4 separate regions of the Homo sapiens genome follow, and regions 1, 3 and 4 are each linked to region 2. Evidence: promoter capture Hi-C in 16 types of primary human blood cells and fetal thymus (Javierre and others, 2016). All regions are on one chromosome and are shown on one strand. Each heading gives the region's core, a stretch centred on a gene start or on the middle of the fragment in contact. The rest is flanking DNA. Distances are from core to core; before and after follow the strand shown.

Evidence for each region. The method cuts DNA at HindIII sites, captures the fragments that hold promoters and counts their contacts. A CHiCAGO score of 5 or more calls a contact.
Region 1: a contact is called between a fragment that was not itself captured here and the fragment with the promoter of ANKRD42 in region 2, in 2 of 17 cell types (total CD4 T cells and naive B cells). The highest score is 6.0, in total CD4 T cells.
Region 3: a fragment that was not itself captured here is called in contact with the fragment with the promoter of ANKRD42 in region 2 in 7 of 17 cell types (total CD8 T cells, activated CD4 T cells, total CD4 T cells and 4 more); the score reaches 11.0 in total CD8 T cells.
Region 4: a fragment that was not itself captured here is called in contact with the fragment with the promoter of ANKRD42 in region 2 in 2 of 17 cell types (total B cells and naive B cells); the score reaches 7.8 in total B cells.

Annotation. Positions count from the first base shown.
Region 1 is chr11:83,011,152-83,013,949 of GRCh38, forward strand. The region is part of intron 1 of RAB30 (RAB30, member RAS oncogene family); the gene reads right to left. Among named protein-coding and RNA genes, the nearest start is that of SNORA70E, 29 kb to the right of the region's middle. The HindIII fragment of the contact is 8,703 bases long and covers 1-2,798 here.
Region 2 is chr11:83,192,053-83,195,003 of GRCh38, forward strand. It overlaps ANKRD42 (ankyrin repeat domain 42), which reads left to right and starts at 1,660. Exons shown (of 11, transcript NM_001300975.2): 1 at 1,660-2,676. The coding sequence starts at 2,619. ANKRD42-DT (ANKRD42 divergent transcript) reads right to left here and starts at 1,617. Exons shown (of 3, transcript NR_149009.1): 1 at 1,415-1,617. RefSeq lists enhancers at 1,367-1,586, 1,647-1,756, 2,277-2,636 and a silencer at 1,891-2,069. The HindIII fragment of the contact is 14,061 bases long and covers 1-2,951 here.
Region 3 is chr11:82,961,080-82,964,194 of GRCh38, forward strand. No RefSeq gene overlaps it. Among named protein-coding and RNA genes, the nearest start is that of DDIAS, 61 kb to the left of the region's middle. The HindIII fragment of the contact is 3,352 bases long and covers 167-3,115 here.
Region 4 is chr11:82,986,151-82,989,048 of GRCh38, forward strand. It overlaps RAB30 (RAB30, member RAS oncogene family), which reads right to left. Exons shown (of 5, transcript NM_001286060.2): 4 at 1,437-1,620. Among named protein-coding and RNA genes, the nearest start is that of SNORA70E, 54 kb to the right of the region's middle. The HindIII fragment of the contact is 316 bases long and covers 1,369-1,684 here.

The DNA.
Region 1 (2,798 bases), core at 19-2,518, 180 kb before region 2:
ACACATTTTCAGAACTTTGGAAACACAGAAAAGGGAAAAATAAAATTGCCAATACAAATGCAATCACTGTCAACATTTTGATGTGTTTCTCCTAGTTTCTTTTTCCCATGTACTGGCTGGTTTGGTTTTGTTTTGATCGTTGTTGTAATCGCATCAACATTTCTTTAAAGCAGTTACAAAATCATTTCAATTTTGAGAAACCAGAGAACTTAATATAAATCTTGTACTATAACATAATGGTGGCTATCAAGAGACCCCACATAATGTCAGTTTGTAAGTAAAAAAGAGAATATTGTACCACTATGACAAAATAAATGGACCAATCAAGGTTCCTAACACCTGTAGATGACTCTTAGGTCTATTTCAGTAGCCATAAGCCAAGAACATGGCGAGTACTGTGTATTAAAGCTGGAAGACTGAATAATGTAGTTGGAATTAGAAAGGCATTTAACAGACTGAAAACAAGAAGATACAATGATGTACTAAGTTTTCAGATCAGAAGAAAGTTGAAGGAAACCAATTCAATTGGTCATTAGGTCCAGAATATTTAACTTTCTTTACATTTCTCATACCCTTACTCTCCTGGCCTCCTGCCCTGCCCTTCACCAAGGCCAGACTCTGGTAGCTGGGCAGCAGCTGCTGTGTTCTGCTTGTTTTCCCTGCCTTCTTCCTGCCTCCCCACTTGCAGGCTGTCCTTCTTCCATTCTGCTGCCAAATGCAATGCAGACCATCACAGGCCTAATGTGCACCCATATCACTATGGACTTCTCTAGAGAGAGAAACAAGGGCAGGGAAAAACACTATCTAAGCAACGCACAGGCTTGGATATGCACTAAATGAGGGGAGGCTGAGTCTGTTGTCACCACTGAGGGGCTCAGTTTCTGCAGGAGTGTGATACTTTTGTGCTTTTCAAACAAAAGAGTCCCTCAACACAAACTGATGATTCATCTATTATATGCATGTCTTCCAAAGACTCTGTCCTCTGTTCTAAGGATAGAGGAAAAAAGCTGCTGTGTTGGACTGCCTAAGATGTGGTACGCCACCACTAGCATAGCAAACCTCACTCAGAGGCAAGAAGAAATGGAACTTGGCATTTTTTGCCTCCAATGCTTTTAGAAATGAACACTTGTACAAGATGCAATGCGACTCCACTGCAGCCTCTCCAAAGAACTAATCTAATCATGTCATTCCCACACTTAAAACTCTTCCAGGGCTCTGGCTGCCCCCACAAAGTTGTCTGTAAGAAGTAGTACAGTGCCCTGGTTAAGAGGGCAAACTTTGGAGCCACACTGCCTGAGTCTGAATCCTCAGACTGCTCTTTCTGAATGCTCTGAATGCTCTTTATGAGTTGGGTGACCCTGGGCAAGTTCCTTGTCCTCTTGGTGCCTACATTTATTTATTTATTATTATTTTTAAGAACAAATTCAATACCTATCCTATGTGTATTTATTTACAAATAGGGATAATAACAGTACTTACCCCATAGGACCGTTGTGCAGATTAAAGGAATTAATACAATAAAGTACAAAGAAGAGGGCCTGGCAAAGAGGAAGTGCTCAGTAAATGTTAGGTGCTGCTACTGTTATTGTTATTGTTGGGCGAAAGTTCAAATTCTCCAGCAGGGCATGCAGAGCCCTCCACAGCCCAGCACCTCGTATCTTTCAGGCTTTGCTTCTCATGACCTGTTACCACTATGACTACCGCTATGATCACGCAGTCTTGCCAAGTTCCCAGAGCATGGGCCCCTAGACAGGTTCATCCCTTCACACCTTTACTCACAGGGCTCATCTCTCTTTATTGGGTGGTAAACAACCAATTATCTCTCAAACCATACCCCCACCCTCCCTGTGAATTGGTCACTCTCTACTTTGTGCCTCCTCTATGTTCTGCAGAGTTTCTCCATAGACACTTTTTTTTAAAATTTATTTTCATTTTTATTTTTATTATTTTGAGACAGAGTCTCACTCTGTTCCCCAGGCTGGAGTGCAATGGTGTGATTTCGGGTCACTGCAACCTCCGCCTCCTGGGTTCAATAAATTCTCCTGCCTCAGCTTCCCTAGTAGTTGGAATTATAGGCATGCACTACCATGCCTGGCTAATTTTTGTATTTTTAGTAGAGACAGGGGTTTCACCACGTTGGCCAGGCTGGTCTCAAACTCCTGACCTCAAGTGATTCACCTGCCTCGGCCTCCCAAAGTGCTGGGATTACAGGCATAAGCCACTGCGCCTGGCCAGACACTTTATTATTCTTGTTGGTTTATGTATCCTGTTTCCTCCACTAGGCCTTAAGGACAGAGGCTCCTGCAAATTCCTATCTGTATTCTCATCGCCTGACATTTCAGTAGACTAAATATTAAATAAATGCAAAAGAAAAACTGATCAGTACACACAAAAGCTGAGAGTGCTTTTCAGAGAAACTAAACACTATGATGAGGAAATCAAACCCCAAAGCAATTTGATCTTAAGGAGAGTTAATTGGCAAAGATCATATAACCAAAGAGAAGAAAACTATAATTTCCCAAGAGAAAGTCAAACCTTGCTACAATGCAGTGTCTCTGTGTGCGTTGGAGGACCCAAAGTGCAGGTCAATTAAATATAAAATACTGCAGGAGATCCAGACTGCAAGAAATAAAGAAAGAGAACTAACCTTTATTGCATGTCTACAATAAGCCAGATACTTAGAAAATAATAGTTTCTATAAAAACAATGTGCTAGACACAGACCTATCCACTTTACCTGCATTATCAAATTAAATAATGCAAGTCCTCAACAACTCTGAGACATAAGTGTTGGCCTCT
Region 2 (2,951 bases), core at 410-2,909:
AATATAGCCCCCCACCCTCCGGAGGCCTGGGTTAAGAGAGAATATTAACCGCTTATTTCTCCTCTACGCACGGAGAGGCTTATCTGTGTTCCACCGTTTCACGTTCCTTGAGGCACCACGAGTTCCTGCTTCCCTCCCTAGCGCGCTGTAAAGTCACAAGGTTGATAAGCAATTGCTACAAAAGCATGCATTCCCAAGGATGTAAGACATGTGGTGTAACAAATGTAAAAGAATAATTAACTGCCTTTGTTCTTGCTTCTGCAAGTAGGCTTCCTGTAGCACCAAACTCCCGCCACAAATTGCTTAAAAGGTGATTGATCCCTTTGTTCCGGGCTCAGACTTTCTGGACCCCAGTCCGACTGAGCCAGTGATCACCTTAATAATAAAGGGTTGTCCTGAATTCTGTTTGGCCTCTCCCGTCTCTATTTGTCCCGCAACACTAGCAGTATATCCTCAGGCAATTAACTTTTTTTTCCCTTGTTTCTCTCTCTGTAAAAAGGAAGAGGAATACTTATTTTGGCAGGTTATAATAAGAATTGAGTCAAACTCATTTATGTTGGCATAAAAAAATGAACAAGAAAATATAAAGCACTTAGTACAATGCCAGGCAGATCATAGGAACTCAGTAGATGGCAATTGTAATATTACAAAAGGTGATGGAAGTCAAAGACAATTTACTGTACCTCAAGAGAGTAGCGGTAGGATCAGAAGAATTTCCCAAATGTGTTCACAGACCAAAACTGGGGGAAAAGCAGGGTAGTTTCCTGGTAAGACGAACAGCACATGACAAGGCAGAGATATTAAAAAGTAAGGTACGCTTCCAGGACGAGTTCATTATTCCTGAAGGGAGAAGGCAATAAGGGTGGAAAAACTGGGCCGAGAGGGGAATCCAGGTTGGTGATGCCCCTGGAGGGCAGGTAATTCTTACTAATTTCTGTATTTTCTGCTGCTGGCACAAAACGTGACCCATACGTTTGCAACAAATGGTGAAATAATTCATTCCTGTTGTTAAGCAATAGGGTTGTAGAAATATTTGAGCAGTAAACATGCTACAGTGAAAGGATTCTCGGATTTGGAGTCAGGAGACCTGAAGCACTCTTTTGACTAATGACCTGTGTTTTTTTACTGGTTTTACAACTTACCTGCTGCCTGGCCTTACCAAAGTACTGATATATTGAGTCTCTTGACCCATAAAACAGGGGTAACAACTAACAAGCGATTATTAAAGAGTTGGCGCTAGTAAAGTACGCAATAAAAACAGCGGCTGCAGCTGCTAAATTCTCCTTTAGGTCTTTTTCCATACTTGCGAAATGACAGGGCAACAAATTTCCTTCCAACCACCACTGAGAAAGTATACCACGTTTGCCCAAGGACAAAAAGGCCCCGCCCGGCCCGCGCCACACAGGTCACCTACGCAGAATGCAGTCCTGGGGGGTTCCACTTGTGTCGCTCAGCGATGGAGGGCGCGATCGATGACAGGCCACTCCAGAGACGGACCTAGATAGGTTCGCATGAGGCCGAGCCGAATTTCACCAAAAACCAGTTTACACCACCTCCCGATTTGTCCACACGAAAAGCCATGGAATAGCTGAGGGAAAGGAAACCGGAAGTAGCGTGGGCCGTGAGGAACGGGAAATGACCTCAGCACGTCGGAAGTGTACTCGTTTCCAAGGCGACGGCCCTGCTGCCTCTCCAGCCAAGTGGCTGGAGTCGGGAGGCTGGAAAGAGACTCCGAGAAAGTACCAGCGGAAGGCGGCCGCCGCTACGGCGATTCGCAGGGAGTAGCAGACGAAGACGGTGGCCGCCGCACTAGCCACCACGTGTGGAGGATAAACGGTCTACACGGCCATTCCGGCGCCGAGTCTAGGGAAAGAGTTAGCGACGACGGGGAAAGAAAATGTGAAGAGAGCGACCGCCGCTCCAGGGTCGCTGCAGGAAGCCTAAGTGCAGACGCCGGCTTCTCCCGCAGTGACTTGAGAAGGGTCAGTGAAAACCTCGGCCACTGCCGCAGCGTCTCTAGGGAGAGAGTTAGGGGAGATAGTGGCCACAGTCACAGCTGCTCTTGGGAGAGAGTTAGGGGAGACAGCACCTTCTGCAGCAGCGACGTGAATTTTAGTGAAGTTGGAGGCCACCAAACTACCGACTCCAGGGGAACAGCCAGAGAAGACCGAGGCCTCCGCCTCAGTGGTCCTTGGGAGGGAGTCAGTGACATTCGGGACCCGCGAACTAGTGACTTCGGGGATAGAGTCAGTGACGATCGCAGTCGCCGCTTCAGTGGCTCCTGGGAGGGAGGGAGTGTCGAAGGCGGCCACAGCGTTGGTAGTTCTTGGGAGGAAGTAAGTGGAGACCGCGGCTACGCAGCCAGCGACTCCTCTGGTGTGAGCGGCAGTGAAGACGCCAGCTACCGCTTCAGTGGCTTTTGGGAGAGAGAAAGTGAAGACGAAGGTTTCCGCTGCAGCTTCTGGGAGAGAGCAAGAGAGGACCTTGGGCCCCGTCCTAGTGACGACGGAGAAGAGGGCCGCTGCCGCTGCAGTGGCTCGTGGGTGAGAGCAAGTGAAGACCGCCGCAGCATCAGGGGCCTGGACTCAACTCCTCCCCAGAGTCGGAGGTGTTGCGCCATGCCCGGGGTGGCCAATTCAGGCCCCTCCACTTCCTCTAGGGAGACTGCAAACCCCTGTGAGTCAGACTGTCATTGGCCTTCATCTCTGTCGTATTCCTTTTCTCACTTAAGCCCGCAACAGCCTTAGCCCTTTCTGGCATTTCCTTTTCTCAGCCGTCACTCCCCCCTTTCCCTTTTTAATTTATTTTCAGGGGATACCAAAGCTGTTCAGCTCTCCCCTGTTCTGTATTATTTCCGCTTTCTTTCCTTTTTTCCATCCACACTATTCCTCCGAGTCTTCTTGCCCAGCTTGACATCAACTCTTGTTCAGTCTTAATGGACGGACCCTTTT
Region 3 (3,115 bases), core at 593-3,092, 230 kb before region 2:
TAATCAGATCCAGGTGCTGTATATACTTGTTATTGATTACGACTTCAATAATTGCAAAATCAACCAACCAAAAGAATCATGAAAAAAATATTATGCAAGATGTCTAAACAGAGGCCCCAAAACCAGCAGTTGCTGGAGAAGTATTTATCACCTTTTTCAAGATCCAAGCTTAGGGTATTGTATGTTTGGCAAAATAGCTATATTTCAGCAGGGCTTAAAGAGATTACTTGTCTCAGGGCTTTCAGTTTGGCCGGTAACAGATGAAGACAGATTGATTGAAAGCATTTGAACAAATATAAACTTGAACAAGCTGAATGGACGTGATTAAGTTAATTAGGGTCGATAAATGCCATTGACAATATCTTACAACTCTTCCTTTATCTTGGAGTATTTCTTTCTTATATAACACAGGCAAGTGGATATGGTGACTCTAATATTAAACCTGTAACTGAGTAGCCATTCAGCCTAATTAACTAGACACCATCTCTCAATGGCCTGCTAGATAATTAACGTTTTATTTTATACATGTAATATTACTCATCATTTACTGTATGCCTATTATGTACCAGACACTATGGCATTTACCCTGTATTTTTTGTTTTTTTAATTTATTTAACTTTTATTTTAAGTTCAGGGGTACTTGTGCAGGTTCTTTACATAGGTAAACTTGTGTCATGGGGGGTTTTTGTACAGATTATTTTGTCACCCAGGTATTAAGCATAGTACCCATTAGTTATTTTTCCTGATCCTCTCCCTCCTCCCACCTTCCACCCCCCAATAGGCCACAGTGTGTGTTGTTCCCCTCTGTGTGTCCATGTGTTCTTATCACTTAGCTCCCACTTATAAGTGGGAACATGCCATATTTGGTTTTCTGTTCCTGCATTAGTTTGTTAAGGATAATGGCCTCCAGCTCCATCCATGTTCCTGCAAAGGACATGACACAATCTCATTCTTTTTTATTTTAAGACAGGGTCTGGCTCTGTCACCCAGGATGGAGTATAGTGGTGCAATCTCAGCTCACTGCAACCTCTGTCTCCTGGATTCAAGTCATCCTCCCACCTCAGCCTCCCAAATAGCTGAAACTACAGGCACATACCACCATGCCCAGCTAGTTGAGCTCATTCTTTTTTATGGCTGCATAGTATTCCTTGGTATACATATACCACATTTTCTTTATGCAGTCTATCATTGATGGGCATTTAGGTTGATTCCATGTCTTTGGTATTGTGAATAGTGTTGCAATGAACATATGCCTGTGTCTTCATAATAGAATGATTTATATTCCTTTGGGTGTATACCCACTAATGGGATTGCTGAGTTGAATAGTATTTCTGTCTTCAGATATTTGAGGACTTGCCACACTATTTTCCACAATCATTGAACTAATTTACACTCCCAACAGTGTATAAGTGTTCCTTTTCTCTGCACCCTCACCAGCATCTGTTATTTTTTGACTTTTTAATTGCCATTCTGACTGGTGTAAGATGGTATCTCATTGTGGTTTTGATTTGCATTTCTCTAATGATCAGTGGTGATGAGCTTTTTTCATATGATCGTTGGCCACATGTATGTCTTCTTTTGGAATATGTCTGGTCATGTCCTTTGCCCACTTTTTCATGGGGTTGTCTTTTTCTTGTGAATTTGCTTAAGTTCCTCATAGATGCTGAATATTAGGCCTTTGTCGGATACATAGTTTGCAAAAATTTTCTCCCACTCAGTAGGTTGTCTGTGCACTGTTGATAGTTTCCTTTGCTGTGCAGAAGCTCTTTAGTTTAATTAGATCCCATTTGTCAATTTTGCTTTTGTTGCAATTGTTTTTGGTGTTTTCACCATGAGATCTTTGCTCATTCCTACGTTCAGAAAGGTATTGCTTACATTGTCTTCCAGGGTTTTTATAGTTTTTGGTTTTACATTTAATTCTTTAATCCATCTTGAGTTAATTTTTGTACATGGTATAAGGAAGGGGTCCAGTTTCAATCATCTGCATATAGCTGGCCAGTTATCCAGCACCACTTATTCAATAGGGAATCCTTTCCCCAGTGCTTGTTTTTGTTAGCTTTGTCAAAGATCAGATATTTGTAGGTGAGCAGCCTTACTTCTGGGTTTTCTATTCTGTTTCATTGGTTTATGTGTCTGTTTCTTGTACCAGCACCATGCTGTTTTGATTACTGTAGCCCTATAGTTTAGTTTGAAGTCAGTTATTAATAGCATGATGCTTCCAGCTTTGTTCTTTTTGCTTAGTATTGCCTTGGCTATTCAAGCTCTCTCTCTCTCTTTTTTTTTTTTTCTTGAGACAGTCTCACTCTGTCACCCAGACTGGAATGCAGTGGCGTGATCTTAGCTCACTACAACCTCTGCCTCCTGGGTTCAAGTGATTCTCCTGCCTCAGCCTCCCAAGTAGCTGGAATTACAGGTGCACACCACCATGCCCGGCTATTTTGTATTTTTAGTAGAGATGGAGTTTCACAATGTTGGCCAGGCTGGTCTCAAACTCCTGACCTCAAGAGATCCACCCACCTTGGCCTCCTAAAGTACTGGGATTACAGGCATGAGCCACTGCACCCGGCCTTTTTTTTTTTTTCCAGCTTTGTCACCAGGCTGGCGTGCAATGGCATGATCTCAGCTCTCTGCAACCTCTGCCTCCTGGGTTCAAGTGATTCTCCTGCCTCCGCCTCCCAAGTAGCTGGGATTACAGGCATCAGAGCTTTTTTAAATTCCATATGAATTTTGAAATAGTTTTTCCTAGTTCGTGAAGAATGTTAGTGGTAGTTTAATAGGAATAGCCTTGAGTCTATAAATTGCTTTGGGTAGTATGGCCATTTTAACAATATTGATTCTTCCTATCCATGAACATGGAATGTTTTTCCATTTGTTTGTGCCATCTCTGATTTCTTTGAGCAGTGTTTTGTAGTTCTCCTTGTAGAGATCTTTCACCTCCCTGTTTAGCTGTATTCCTAGGTATTTATTTTATTTTATTTTTGTGGCAGTTGTGAATGGGATTGCATTCCTGATTTGGATCTCGGCTTGACTGTTTTTGGTATGTAAGAATGTAAGTGGTTTTTGCACCATCATTTTGTATCCTGAGACTTTGTTGAAGTTAATGAGCTTTTGGGTG
Region 4 (2,898 bases), core at 277-2,776, 210 kb before region 2:
TAGAGATATACACAGATATTGAAACATGAATTAATACAACCTCTGAGATTTGCTTCAAAATAATCTGAGGGAGAAGGTGGACAGCATTGCTAGGGAAGAGAAAATAAGATTGGTCATGAGTTGGTAACTGTGAAAGCTGGGAGATGTGTAGAAGGGGATTCACTATACTGTTTCTCTACTCTTGTTTATGTCTGAAATTTTCCATAGTAAAATTGTGTTTTAAGCCAATTCCTCTTTCATATTGAACTAACTGTCTCCCCTCAAATCTTCATTTACCTTCCTTAGATAAAATCCCAAGTAGTAATGCTTTGACTCAAGTTCCCAAAGGCTTTCTGTAAAACAGAAGGTACAAATGCAGACCTCTCAAATGCTTTATGGCAAAGGTTCAACATTGTCCAAAAGGGTTTTACAGGGAGCACTAGCTCATAGAAACACAGATGCTTCATCCAGCAGCCTGAAGGAAAAGTCCAGCAATTTGTTACAACGTAACATATTACAGCTGGACAACTACAGGGCTTGGAGTTGATCTTACATGCTATGTGACCTTGGGAAAAGAACTTCACCTCTTTGAGCCGTGGTTTCCTGATCTGTAAATCAGGGATCATGACACATAAAGTTCCTCGTATCATTCCTGGCACATATATACCAATTATAACACTATTCTAAAGTGTTTACTGAGCTTATTATTAACCATAATTTGTAACTTAACAATGCTTCTAAGGATCTCTACTCAAATTTCCCTAATTCAGGTATTGCTAGACTATATAGGAACGTTCCTTTCTAGGAAGAAAATATGTTAATGATCAAATGGTTACTAACACTTTTCCACTACAAACAGAGAAGTTTTTAATGACCTGGTCCATTTCAATGCATATATCAGTCATGATAGAAAATCAAGGGTTGTTTTGTGCTTTCCCCCCATACTAAATAGAGGTTTTATTCTCCTACAAGATGAAACAAACTACAGCATTGCCCTTAGCAGATTCTTTCTGAAACACAGAATTTCTCAAATCAGCCTAAATGTTAGGAAGGGAAAAAAAATTACCAAAATCCACCTTTTAGGCAATAAACAATTGCTTCAATAATGAATTCCATATCAACTTAAAAGATACATTTTTCTTCTAGAACAGCCATTCCTTTCATCTTGTAATTAGACTTTTTAAATTTTTAGCAGCTCACATAACTTTCATGGCCATCCAACTTCTTCCCTAGAGCCTACATTGATAGAAAATGTTTTCTACTTTATTTTTCTAAACTGTCACCATGGGATAGGACCTATTTCATTTTCTCTTCAATTGCAGAAGAACTGAAGGTTGACTGCATGAATTATTAGCTAAAGACTATATTCTTGGAAGGCACCAATGTATAAGCTTTATGTGATTATAAATCCTCTAATGCCCACAAATCAATTTCCCTCCTCGTTAGCCCTTACTTACCCACTAACACAGTGATGACCTTGTTGCTGGCATATTGTTCTATCTCCCGCAGCCACTCAGGAAGGCAACGGAAGGATTCCTCACAGGTAATGTCATAGGTGAGGATCAAGGCATTGGCGCTTCGGTAGTAACTCTGGGTAATGGACCGAAATCTCTCTTGACCTGCTGTGTCCCAGATCTGTAGCTGTAAAGGCATAAGATAAGAATCAGGTGAAGAAGGATCAGGTTGGAGAAAAAAAGAAAAAAAAAGCTTTGCCTTGCTTTGGTTTGAAAATGGGTACACCTTTACCCAAACAATTTCATGGTTATTTTCTGCCCTAAAAAAAAAAAAAAAAAAAAAAAAAAAAGCACTGAAAATTAAAAAAAAAAAAATCTGTTGGGTGTGTTTCTGGTTAGGGAGAGGGGCTTATTTTGTTTTGTTTTGTTTTTTCTTTGTTAAGAGTTTCCTTTTCATTCTTAAAAAAATACATATAGGAAATTCGTCAAGCATTTATTATGTGCCAAGCTCTATTCTAAGCATTTTACCTGTGGCAACTCACTTATTCCTCACAGTAACCCTATGAGGTAGATACTATCATAATACCCATTTCTTGCATGAATAAACTGAGGCACAGTAAGATTAATTAACTTGTTCAGCATCTCATAGCCAATATGTCCCAGAACCAATTCAACCAGGCATTGTGGTCCCAGAGTCCCCGTTCTTACTCACAATGCCATATTACAAAAGGCATGATACAGGGCAAGCTGTGACTGTTGGCATTTAATCAGCAACTGGAGGGAGAGCCAACCTCACCACTTTTCCAGTTCAAAATTCAAATGGATGTATTAAGGTATTATCTTTGTTAAAGAAAACAGGAATCATGCCATGGCAGACAACAATATAATTTTCCTTCAGGTCTCTTAAGTTCTATGACCTTGGCCAAGTCACTTAATCTCTTTGGGCTTTGATTATTTCTTTATAAAAAGTGGTTAATAACACACAACCTGCTGAAGGTTCACTTTTTCTGCAGTTATCTACCAGTTCTAAGTCCTAATAACTAATAATTCTAATAACAAAGAAGAAGACAATACTTGTCAATTTCCCTGCACAGAGTAGACAACTACTGAAAACGAATTATTCTCCAGGGTGGCTGCTAAGTGTAGAACAAAACACAAGGCCTTGAGAAATAAGAACATCAACAAAAACAATAATCTTTCCTTCTAATTGCACGAATTTCACAGGTCACAGGTGTATTCATGTCCAGGGACATAAGATTGCTTCCTCAGGAAGGCTTTCCAGAACCTTCAGATTAGGCTAGGTTCCCCACCCCCCCACCCCACACAGTCTCTCTTGCGATACATCCTGTCATTCTCCCTCATGGCACCTGACATGCCTGAATCATTTATTTGTAATAATTTGTTTAATAGCCATCTTTCCCACTAAACTGAAAGCTTCATGAGGGAGACGTCAGGGTCCATTTAG